Linked DNA regions of Homo sapiens: regions 1 and 3 are each linked to region 2. The links are contacts of gene promoters, found by promoter capture Hi-C in human tissues and cell types (Jung and others, 2019). All regions are on one chromosome and are shown on one strand. The core of a region is centred on a gene start or on the middle of the fragment in contact, and the rest is flanking DNA. Distances in the headings are between cores, read along the strand shown.

The links. Contacts are between HindIII fragments. The study calls those that stand out against the background at their distance.
Region 1: a fragment that was not itself captured here is called in contact with the fragment with the promoter of ATG14 in region 2 in 1 of the 25 tissues and cell types used here (IMR-90 fibroblasts).
Region 3: a contact is called between a fragment that was not itself captured here and the fragment with the promoter of ATG14 in region 2, in 2 of the 25 tissues and cell types used here (aorta and hippocampus).

What each region holds. Positions count from the first base shown.
Region 1 is chr14:55,237,287-55,241,076 of GRCh38, forward strand. It overlaps the pseudogene COX5AP1. Among named protein-coding and RNA genes, the nearest start is that of FBXO34, 32 kb to the right of the region's middle. The HindIII fragment of the contact is 9,558 bases long and covers 1-3,790 here.
Region 2 is chr14:55,410,573-55,414,035 of GRCh38, forward strand. It overlaps ATG14 (autophagy related 14), which reads right to left and starts at 1,258. Exons shown (of 10, transcript NM_014924.5): 1 at 1,030-1,258. The coding sequence starts at 1,250. It also overlaps a transcript of FBXO34 not described here and the pseudogene RPL21P6. RefSeq lists a silencer at 1,248-1,547. The HindIII fragment of the contact is 14,251 bases long and covers 1-3,463 here.
Region 3 is chr14:55,642,391-55,646,040 of GRCh38, forward strand. All of the region lies in intron 18 of KTN1 (kinectin 1), which reads left to right. Among named protein-coding and RNA genes, the nearest start is that of KTN1, 64 kb to the left of the region's middle. The HindIII fragment of the contact is 7,767 bases long and covers 1-3,650 here.

The DNA.
Region 1 (3,790 bases), core at 529-3,028, 170 kb before region 2:
TTGTATTTTTAGTAGAGATGGGGTTTCACCATGTTGATCAGGCTGGTCTCCAACTCCTGGCCTCATGATCCGCCTGCCTCGGCCTCCCAAAGTGCTGGGATTACAGGCTTGAGCCACCGTGCCCGGCCTGGTTTTGTACATCGTAGGGAGACATGAGACATCAATGTGTGTAAGATGTACATTGGTTCAGTCTGGAAAGGTGGGACAACTTGAGGCAAAAGCAGGACAACTCTAAGCAGGGAGGCGGCTTCCAGGTCACAGGTAGATAAGATTCAAATGGTTGCATTCTTTTGAACTTCTGATTAGCTTCTCCAAATGAGGCAATCAGATATGTATATATTTATCACAGGGAGCAGAGGGGGGTGACTTTGAATAGAAGGGGAGGCAGATTTGCCCTAAGCAGTTCCCAGCTTGAGTGATTTTGGGGCCCAGAGATTTATTTTCCTTTCCAGAGTTTATACTAACATTTGCATTTTAAATTATAACTACAAGGTTTTTAGTTAACTTCTATATTAAATCTATATCTCCTTTCCTCCATGCCAAGAACCCTAGTTCTCAAGGTAACAGGGGATGATAGAATTTGAAAATTTCATGACTTTCATTTACTTTTTCCCACATAAAACCAGCAATCTCAGAATAATAATAGTAGTTATTTTAGAATAACAACTTTACTACTGGCAATTAATATTCATAATACAATCACCACCAACTACTGAAAATGGTAAATAATTTTTTATATGTTATCCCCATTCTTACCCCAGTTTTAAATTGTTGTATCATAGCTACCCTGTCAGAGCATATAACCTTTATATTCTATCATCTGCCTCCCTTTTAAATTTTATTTTGTCTTAGTTCTACAGGCAACTTCCTCCTTTCATCTACTACTTCTCTTAAAGCATTTTGTGTGTGTGTGTGTGAGTGTGTTTCCCTTTTTTCTTCTAGTTTAGTGTTAATCGTTACTATAATTTTTTTTTCTTTTTTCCTCTTTTTTAGAGATGGGGTTTCCCTATGTTGCCCAGGTTGCTCTCGAACTGCTGGGCTCAAGCGATCCTCCTGGCTCAGCCCCGCGAGTAGCTGGAACCACAGACGTGCACCACCACACCCAACTAATTTTTTGTAGAGACGGGGTTTCGCCATGTTGCCCAGGCTGTTCTGGAATTCCTGGGCTCAAATGATCCACCCACTTTGGCCTCCCAAAGTGCTGGGATTATAGGCATGAGCCATATGAGTCATTGCGTCTGGCCACATTATAGTTTTTAGTCTTTTTTTTCGCATTATCGTTTTGATCTGCTTCTTGAATATGTCTTTATGGTGTACTTTCATTTTTTGCAGGAATGTTATTCTGCTCCGTATTCTCTTTTTTTCTTTTAGTAAATTTGGAATTTGACCTTAGTATTTTTCTATTGTTCGTTCTTAAGTAAAATTAGTTTTTCTGAACTTCTAATGGTGGCTAGGTTCAGATAGATTTTGCTAACATCACTGAGGTACTTCTTCGCTTTTGTGTAAAGTTTTAAATATATAACTGTCTGCAGTTTTGAGATTTCCTGGCTCTGCTCTCCTTATTTACTTTTTATCTGGATCTCCTTTTTTTTTTGAGATGGAGTCTCACTCTTGTTGCCCAGGCTGGAGTGCACTGGCGCGATCTCGGCTCACTGCAACCTCCGGGCCTCCTGGGTTCAAGTGATTCTTCTGCCTCAGCCTCCCGAGTAGCTGGGATTACAGGCATGCGCCACCATGCCTGGCTAATTTTGTATTTTTAGTAGAGACGGGGTTTCTCCATGTTTATCAGGCTGGTCTCGAACTCCCCACCTCAGGTGATCCACCCGCCTCGGCCTCCCAAAATCCTGGGATTACAGGTGTGAGCCACCATGCCCGGCCTGGATCTCCTTTTTATGTGTTGTCCCTATCTTGATCAATTTTGATCCCACACCCAGCAGTTTCTCTCAGAGCTGTGTCCTGGAAGTGAGATTTGGACATTCAGTATTGTAAATTCAGAGGGGTTAGAATGTCCCCACCCCTTTAGGTCTTACTGAGTTTCCTTGTGCTCTTCTGCAATTAAAATGGGCAAAACCCCTACCAGTTTCAGTTGCCACTCATGGATTGACCCATTGTGCTTTCCAGTGAATGCTGTTGCTCTTTGGATTCTCCTGTTCTCACTCTATCAAATGTCTCATGGGCTCCCTTTCCTGTCTCTTACACACACTCCAACATCATGCAGGTCTTGTGGTTGACGATGGTGTGTCCCCATATGCTTCTATTCTGTGGTTTGTGGGGATGCCTTGCCATCTTCTTTAGCTGTAAATGTTATCCTTGAGTTTTAATTTTGTTGTCTAGTTTCTCTGTTCATATGCAGGGGGTTTGAGAAGATCCAAAACCATGCTCTCACTGTCATGTTTCTAGAAGCCCTATAACTTTCAGGGAACTGAAATTTAATATATTTTATATGATACATTATGCTTTTAAAAAATAATTCTAAAATAATTTCAATCTTACAGCAAATTGCAGGAATAATTCAGAGACTTCTCTTTATCCTTTACTTAGATTCCCTAATCAATTAATATTTTACCATATTATCTTTTTCTCTCTCATTTTGTATATAAAACATATAAAAGTCCAGTAAAATCATTATAATCAATAAATTAAAATTAATACAATACTAACATCCAATCTGCAGACTAGATTCAAATTTCACTGATTGTCTCCATAATGTGCTTTATAATCACCCTTTCCTTTCTGACCCAGGAACCAATAGAAGATCATGTGTTGAATTTAATTGTTATGTCTTCTTAACCTCCTTCAACTTGGAGATTCCTCAGTTTTTCCATGTCTTTCATGTTGACCGTTTAAAAGAGAACAGGCAATTAATTTGTAGACTGTCCCTACGCTTGAGTTTGCCTTAAGTTTCTCATGGTTAGATTCAGGTTATTTGTTGGTAGTGGGTTTTTATGGAGGCGTACCACAGAAGTGATGCTATGTTCTTCTCAGTGCAGCATCAGAAGGCAACAACGTAATTTGTTCTATTTCTATCAGGGTTGACTTTTATCACTTGGTTAAGATGGTGTCTGCTGAATTTCTTCACTGTAAAATTAATTAATAAGTATTTTGTACTTACTAGGTTAAAAGTTATTAATAGGTATTTTGTGGAGAGCTACTTTTTTTTTTTCAGTTCAAACTCATTTCCCTTTTATTAAAGTCCAGGTTACCATTACATGGGTTGGTACTCAATAAAGGAAAACTTGTTCAAATAAGGTATATATTATCATCAGTATTTCCAGGTAACTGTTTACACACAAGTAGCAATATCAATAAATCCTTGCAAAGCCCATCCATGGGGTTTACACCTTGTCAAGGCCCAGATCCTCCGGAGTGGAGATTCCCAGTTCATTTAAAGTTGGTCTGAGTTCCTGTATGACATAGGGGTAGATTTCCTTATGAGGTCCTGCTTTGTCCTTAACAGCCTCTAGGATGCCAACTGCACTAGCAAAATCGTTTAACCGTCTGCATGCCCGCAAAGCAGCATCAACAATTTTGGGCTCTGGAACCGGATCATAGCTAACAAGTGTGTTCATCCCTTTACGCAATTGCCAGGCATCTATATCTGGCTTGTTGAAGTATGTTACTCAGAGAGCATCAAACTCCTCATCTGTCTCGTGACCCATGGGAATAGCAGTGAACTGACTGGATAGCCGCGGCGGGGCCGGGGGTTGGGGCGGAATGCAGGAGGCCTCGAGGGCCGGCCCGGGCGGTTGCAGTCACCGCGCAGCGGTGGAGAGCGGCCCCAGCACGACGG
Region 2 (3,463 bases), core at 8-2,507:
ACAGAAATACTAAGAACTCAAAACATTCCCAAATATAGAGGATATAAAGTCTAGTGGTTAAGTGCGGGTACATAGGTCCAAGCTGTCTGAATTTTAATTCTTGTACCAACACTTAACTATTTGTGTGACCTGGGGCAAAGCACTTACTGTGCAGCTTCCTAATAAGTTGGGGATAAGTCATTCGGTTGTTGCGAATGAATTAATACCTGAATTTTTGTGCTCAGAATGCTAGCTATCTTACTATCATTGACTATCATTGACACTAAATTGTTGAAACATAAGTTGAGAGTGGGAGATCCTGCAGCTAATCACACTAATTTTTCAATTTTCTTAACCAAGAACTTGTAGCTGTTTAGATTTCGAAATGAAACCAAAACATTTTCCTAAAGGCAATTCTCTTAACTAAAAGCATGCAGCTCCCAATCTGAATTTTAAAACAAGGCCAAAACACGTTCCCAAATTCCTAAGAATCTAAAATAATCTTTAGAGGCAGGGAGGGGAAAGGGGCGTTAACAGCAAGCCTCAATTCACACATTAGAGTAAGCATGTCTGATAACAAAGTCCATCTGTGACAGACTACCAGGCCCAAATCCCTCTAAAGCAGTTATTTGATTCTCTTCTACTCTCTCCTCTAGAGAATGAGTATAAATATGCTTTCGAAAATAGAAAGCCAAGCTTTTGAATGGGAGTACATACAGCAAAGAGCTGGGAATCTAACTTAATGGCAGCAACGGGAAAACTTCTCCAGAGAGTCACCACTTATTCCTTTTTTCCCCAGTGACCAAGAGCACCGTGGGGTCAAACTCCTCTTGGGTGGGTGATGGGGAAACGGCGACCTTCCCTCATCTGGCCCCTACGCTGTCCTCTGGTAGCAAAGCTCCGGTGCAGAGCAGCTAGCTACACTCCCTCTCTCTCGCTCCTCTCGCTGGTATCTGGTGCCCGGACGGGGAGCCCCAGGTTCCAGCCTTCGGCTGCCTGGCTGGAGGACACACAGCAGAAGAAACAATAGGGCCGTGGCGGCCGCCGTACCTCTCCCGGTCGCGGCCGTCGAAGTAGACGAAATCGCCGCTCTGAACGCATTTGGCGCAGGTCAGCCGCCGGCGGGTAGTGTTGCACAGCGGGCAGCGCTCCACAGCCACGTACAGCCCCTCCGCATCGTCCACGGAGTCCACCAGGTCCCGGGCGAGCGGCCGGGGCCCGCAGCCAGGAGCCTCCAGCGCCCGGGCTCCCTTCCCACTGGGAGACGCCATGATGGCCTGAGAGGAGAGCCAGTCACGTGGGATTTTGTTTTCAACCGGGTGCATTCTGGGCCAGGAGGAGGGGCCTGGGGAAGGGGGGCTGGGATGCCGGCGAGCCCCCGGACCCCTCCGCCGCCGCGTGTTCCTGTCCCGGGCACTGTTGTTTTTCCGGTCTGCTGAGGGGCAACAGGTCCCGAAGCAGGGGGAGAGTTATATTAGAGGGGCTAGTCGGCCAAACAAAATGTCATCTGCTGGCTCAGGCCAAGACTACGAGTTAAAGCCTCAAACTTGTGCAGAAAATTGTAATACCATACCCTAAGGATTCTGGGAAAACGGAATGGGAGCGGAATAAGGGAATTTAACTTGCTGTGGATGCTTTAAAATCTGGCTAAACTACAGCAAACAAAGTAGGGTGAAGGGGCTGGGTCTTGGAACTAGGTTGAATTTTGGCTCACTCACCTGCTTAATAGCTGTGTGACTTGGGGCAAGTTCCTTAATCTCTCTGCGCCTGTTCTCTCGTGTTAAATGGATAGAATTATAGTACCCATCTAATGCCGTGAGGATTAATATGGTTAATAGTATTATACTTTACCAATAGTGAAAACAACCAAAGTGAACGTGCAAAATCAGAATTGTATCCTTCTGAAAAGTTAATCACGTGGCTAACGTACCTTCCCTACCCTGGGCCATGCTCTAAGAGAATTTGAACTAGGTAGATGGTTAGGACTTCCCTTCAAGTTTCTTTTGGTGGATAGGGGATATATAAGGTGATGTGTTGGGAGGATCATATCAGAGTAATTAGTGTTTGAATATGCCTCTAAACTACAGAGAAAAGTGAGTTTATAGGTGAGATTAAATAGACCAGTGATTCTCAAGGATGATTTTACTAGGCTATCTACTGATAAACTGCCCTGAATTCTCTCTCTAGCCAGGATTCCTTTCTCAAGTTCCATACCCAAAGATCCAGAACTACTTACTAGGTATCAGGTGACATTCCAGGACACCACAAACTCAAAGTGTTGGAAACTGACTTCTGCCTCCCTACAAACCTGTTTTCTTACTTTGGTAAAGGACGTAATCACTGATGATTTACAGCCAAGAGCCATGATTCATATTAGCCCGTCCCTCCCTGTTAATCTCCACATCACCATCGAAAACTGGTGATTCTACAAGCTAATTAGGTCTTGAATCTGAGCCCTTTGCTCCTCCGTCTTCTTAATCTTACCCAGTCTTTTTAAATACAAATCACGTAGGATTACAAAAACAAGCAAAAGCAAAAATTCTCTATATTCAGAATACAGTTTACACTAAACTTGAATGGTTCCTGAAAGTTTAAGATTTATTTTTAAGTGAGAAGTCTTTCTCTCTGATCATTTCAAACAAAAGGATTATTTTTTAAGGTCTCGGGCTTATGTTTCATTTGTATTCAGACAGGATCCTTCACAGTGCTTAATACCTAATGATCAGGATCAACTGTTCAATATTTTAAAAGGCAAAAAATACACATTAATTCCTATCGTGCTAGATGATATCACAGATAGTATCTAGCTTATGCAGTTATTTGAAACTCCTATATGTTGCTATATATTTTCAGAGAACGCATATTAATGTATTACTTAACAGCAGAGCACTGAGGTTTTTGGATACAAAATGTAGTTTAAATATTTCTTTAAGGGGAGGGGGCGGCGCCACACTTCTCAATGAAGAGAAACATTTGTACAGTTCAGAATTTTTTTTGACACCTATTATGCCATGAACTCATAGGGAATAGGTTCCAGCAGCCCAGGCTCCCTCCATTGGTTCTAAGTGCTTGTCTGGGTGGAGCAGGCTGGCGCTTCAGTTGAACTCAGACACCTCTCCCTTTGACGTCTTTTTCTGATTATTTACCTTCACGCGTTTCAGGAAACTTACTTGGCTCTTAGAGTGCCAAGGCCCAGGCAGATGGATCAACTGAGGTCAGGAGTTCAAGACCAGCCTGGCTCAGTAAGCACATTCATTCTCTTGGCAAAAATCTTGCCCTTGTTTACAATGCCAACAGCATGCTGGGTAACACTGTAGACTCTTCCAGCTTTGCTGTGGTAACATTTGCGGAGCACTCCTTTTTGAAAAGCAGCCATTCCCTTGATGTCTACAATATCACCTTTTTCGTAGATTCGCATGTATGTGGCCAAAGGAACAACTCCATCTTTTCTAAAAGGCCTAGAGAACATGTATCAGGTGCCTCA
Region 3 (3,650 bases), core at 424-2,923, 230 kb after region 2:
ACTATATCAGCTTTGAATAAGCATGGTTCCATAAATTAGAGCCCAGTGGTATCTGTTCTCTGCCTATTCCTCAGTGCTGCCTTCGTACTCTTCTTCTACGCAGCTCTTACAATTACAATTTATTAATAAAACACAAACTCTTGATGACACATTAGAATAGGAAGTTTGCGTTTGTTCCTAATATTAAGTTTTTGAATTGTACTTTTATTGGAAGCCGAAATGTAAAGCCATTGCAAATGATAGCACTTCTTTAGCAAATGCATGCGTTCTTTCATTTATTTTAAAATTCACATTTATGCAGATATTGAGCTGGTGTAAGTAGCTGTGCCTCTGGAAGTATTTTGTTAACTTGTCAAGAAATAATCCATTTATTCTACCTCCCCGTATGATATTAAGTGCATTATTACATAGTCTTACTACTTACTTTGTATTTGCTTTACCCTTGTAAACTAAAGGTAATAGAGGAGACAGTGCTGAAGGGATGATATTTAGTTTAAATGGCATTTAAGGCTTATTCTTTTTTTTTTTTTTCTTCTTGAGACAGAGTCTTCCTCTGTTGCCCAGGCTGGAGTTCAGTAGCACTATCTTGGCTCACTGTATCCTCCACCTCCCAGGTTAAAGCCATTCTCGTGCCTCAGTCTCCTGAGTAGCTGGGACTACAGGCATATGCCACCATGCTCCGCTGATTTTTGTATTTTTAGCAGAGACGGGGTTTTGCAATATTAGCCAGGCTGGTCTTGAACTCCTGGCCTTAAGTGATCTGCCTGCCTCGGCCTCCCAAAGTGCTGGGATTACAGATGTGAGCCACTGTGCCCAGCTAAGGCTTATTTTTGTCTTATTTCCTTTTCTGGTATAGCTTACAAAAAAGATATGATACCAATTATAAGATTTCTCTCCCCCCACCCTCCCTTACCATCTCTGAAATAAGAATGTATCTTGTAGTCTCTGGTTACAGTTTAGTTGTTTAGTTGGCAACATTTTTAATTTTTACTGTTAAATAGCAGTGGTGAGATATAACATTGGTGACTTGGATTAGATAAAATGTAATAGATTTTTGTGTGTGTGTTCTTACTTGGAAAAGCAGAGTATAGTTTCTGTGTGTTAGTTACCAGAGATTTTTGAAATGCTGATAACCAGTGTATGAAGTTTTAAACTTTAAAATTAACTTCATGGAGGTAAAACAAATGCTTAGAAACTTCTGAAACTGTCCTAGAATTCTTATATTCTAGTAGTATCCAGGTGCTGGCGACTCTTATTTAAACAGAAAACTTCTGTTCTTTGCTAAAAATGGTATTTTCCATCATTAGATAAAAGTAAAACCACCAGCCTTAAATTTTTCTTTTCCTTTAAAATCATGTAATACCTTGAGAAATGCCATTGTAATACCTTATGTAAAATTCCCAATCATATTTATGAAAGTTAATATTATTGCTATCTTATTAAGTCAGCCTTTTATTATAATGTTTCTACGTACTTTTAGATGTTTTGTTAAAGTGACAACTTTTAGTATGAGATGTGCTTTTGTTATGAAGAATAATTCACAGGATAAAATTTTATAGCCACATTTTTTGATTTATTTAAAAGAATTATTTGATAAGGGGGAAACTCATTTTGTGATACTAATTTAAGATCTGTTGGGTAATTCTTAGAATTGTTCTTCTGACTCTGAAAGCTTTTTATTAATAGTCTAGAAAGCATATGACTGAGGTTTTGGTTATAGTTGAGACTTCTTTCATCTTGGCAGACAAAGAATCATTTCTGTGGCTTTTCCTCTAGTCGTTTTTATTGTTGCTGCTAGTGAAAGAAGAGAAAAGATTGGTATAATCTTAATTTCTGTCATTTCCACTTTTCTTTAACCCCTTTCTATCCCACAGTCAGAATTCCAAGTGACAGTTGAGAGATTGAACAGTTTAGTTATGTAAAAATTTCAGTCCTTTTACCCCATGGATTTTTATTCTGGAGGAAAAGATTGAGCGTATAAAAGCAGAAACCAATAATGGTGCCAAGTTGTTGTTTCTTCAGGTGTAGGAAGCAGAAAGACAACAGGTACCAAGTAAGTTAACCTGTTGATACCCTAAAGGAGGGAAGGCTGCATTTGGATTTAGGCTTGCAGATGGTCAGATAATGCAAATAAATCATTTACTAATATTTCATTTACTCAGAATAAGACTTTTTTTTTTTTTTTTTTTGCTGTGGGGGAGCACATTTTGACTTTTAGTGAAGGAGCAGCATGACATTCTTATTCCAGTAGATTTTTAAGATTCAGTGATCAAGATTATTAAGTGAAAACTATAAGAAGTTTCTTCTTTTTGCCCTACTGCCTTGTTAAATTGTATTGCAGAATATATTGTATATGGTTTAGTTTTGGAAATCATCTAGGGGAGGAAACAGTAGGATTGGATTAAACCAATAAAGTATGAAGTAAAGTAAAAATGTTGGAGGAGATGCAAACTAAGCTGAGTCAGGTTTATGCAATAGAGTATTTGATGAGCTGCAGACCAAGAATACTTTCTAAACTGGAACTTCATTAAAAAAAATTCATCAAATACTTATTTACTAGTTGAGTATATGCTAGTTGCTTACCTACATGCTGAGGTTGCAGAGATGAATGAGACTTGATTCTTGCCCTCCTAATATGGAGATAGATATGTTAAACAGAAAGTTATGGTGAATGAAGTTTCTGAACTCTATACAGGTTTAGAGGAAGAGATAATGCATTCTATTAATATTTGAAGGAGGTGGGGAGGTAACACAGGGAACAACTAAACCTCGTTTTGAAAAATGAGCATGAATTTGCCAAAGAGCTAAGAGACAGTCCAGGCTGAGGGAATACAATGTTCAAAGACATGACAGTGTGGCAAGATTGGCATATTCAGAGTATTGGTATATTGCAGAAGTACAAAATACAGGAAGGATGTAAGGAGTAGAGAAAGATTTGCTAAGACCTAATTATGAAGGGCTTTGTATGCTGTGTCAGGACCATGAACCTGATGCAGCATGTGGGTAAGCCACTAAAGAGTGTTGCAAGGATAAATGAGCATTTAGCCTAACATTTTAGAAAGAATACTCTGGTAGGTAGGAGTAACTAAAGGTACAATACAGTAAATGGTTAAGGTGCAGGTAACTTAGACTTAATAGTGTTATGTCTTTTTGTGAGATGGCATTCATTGAAAATATAGATGGACAAAAGCCATCTTCATGAATGATTTAAAGGCTTAATGCATGATTTGTTTTTCATAGTATAAACCTGATTTAATGTACTTTTGACAACTCCTATTTCCCTTCTCATGTTTGGATTATTTTTTCCCATTGGGAAGTTTTTTCCTGTGCCTCCTACAAAACAATTCTTATGAACTAGAAGCAGAGAGAAGAATTAGGGTATTATGATATTTGAGATGAGTAAGCTGAGGGCCAAAACTTAGGCATTAAAGAGAAGGGTTTAATTTCATAAATATGTACAGAGTGGAATTTTAGGACTTGGATAGGGCAGTGGAAAAATTAATATCATTTGTAAAAAATGATTGTAATAAGATTGGGAAAAACAAAAAAATGGGAAAAAAGTAAGAAACTAGCAAGATTGGGAAAGAGGTGCACAGAAGAGAATGTTCTAGGAGAAAGACCCTAAATCTTTTTGGTCAGGCTGCTTGGCT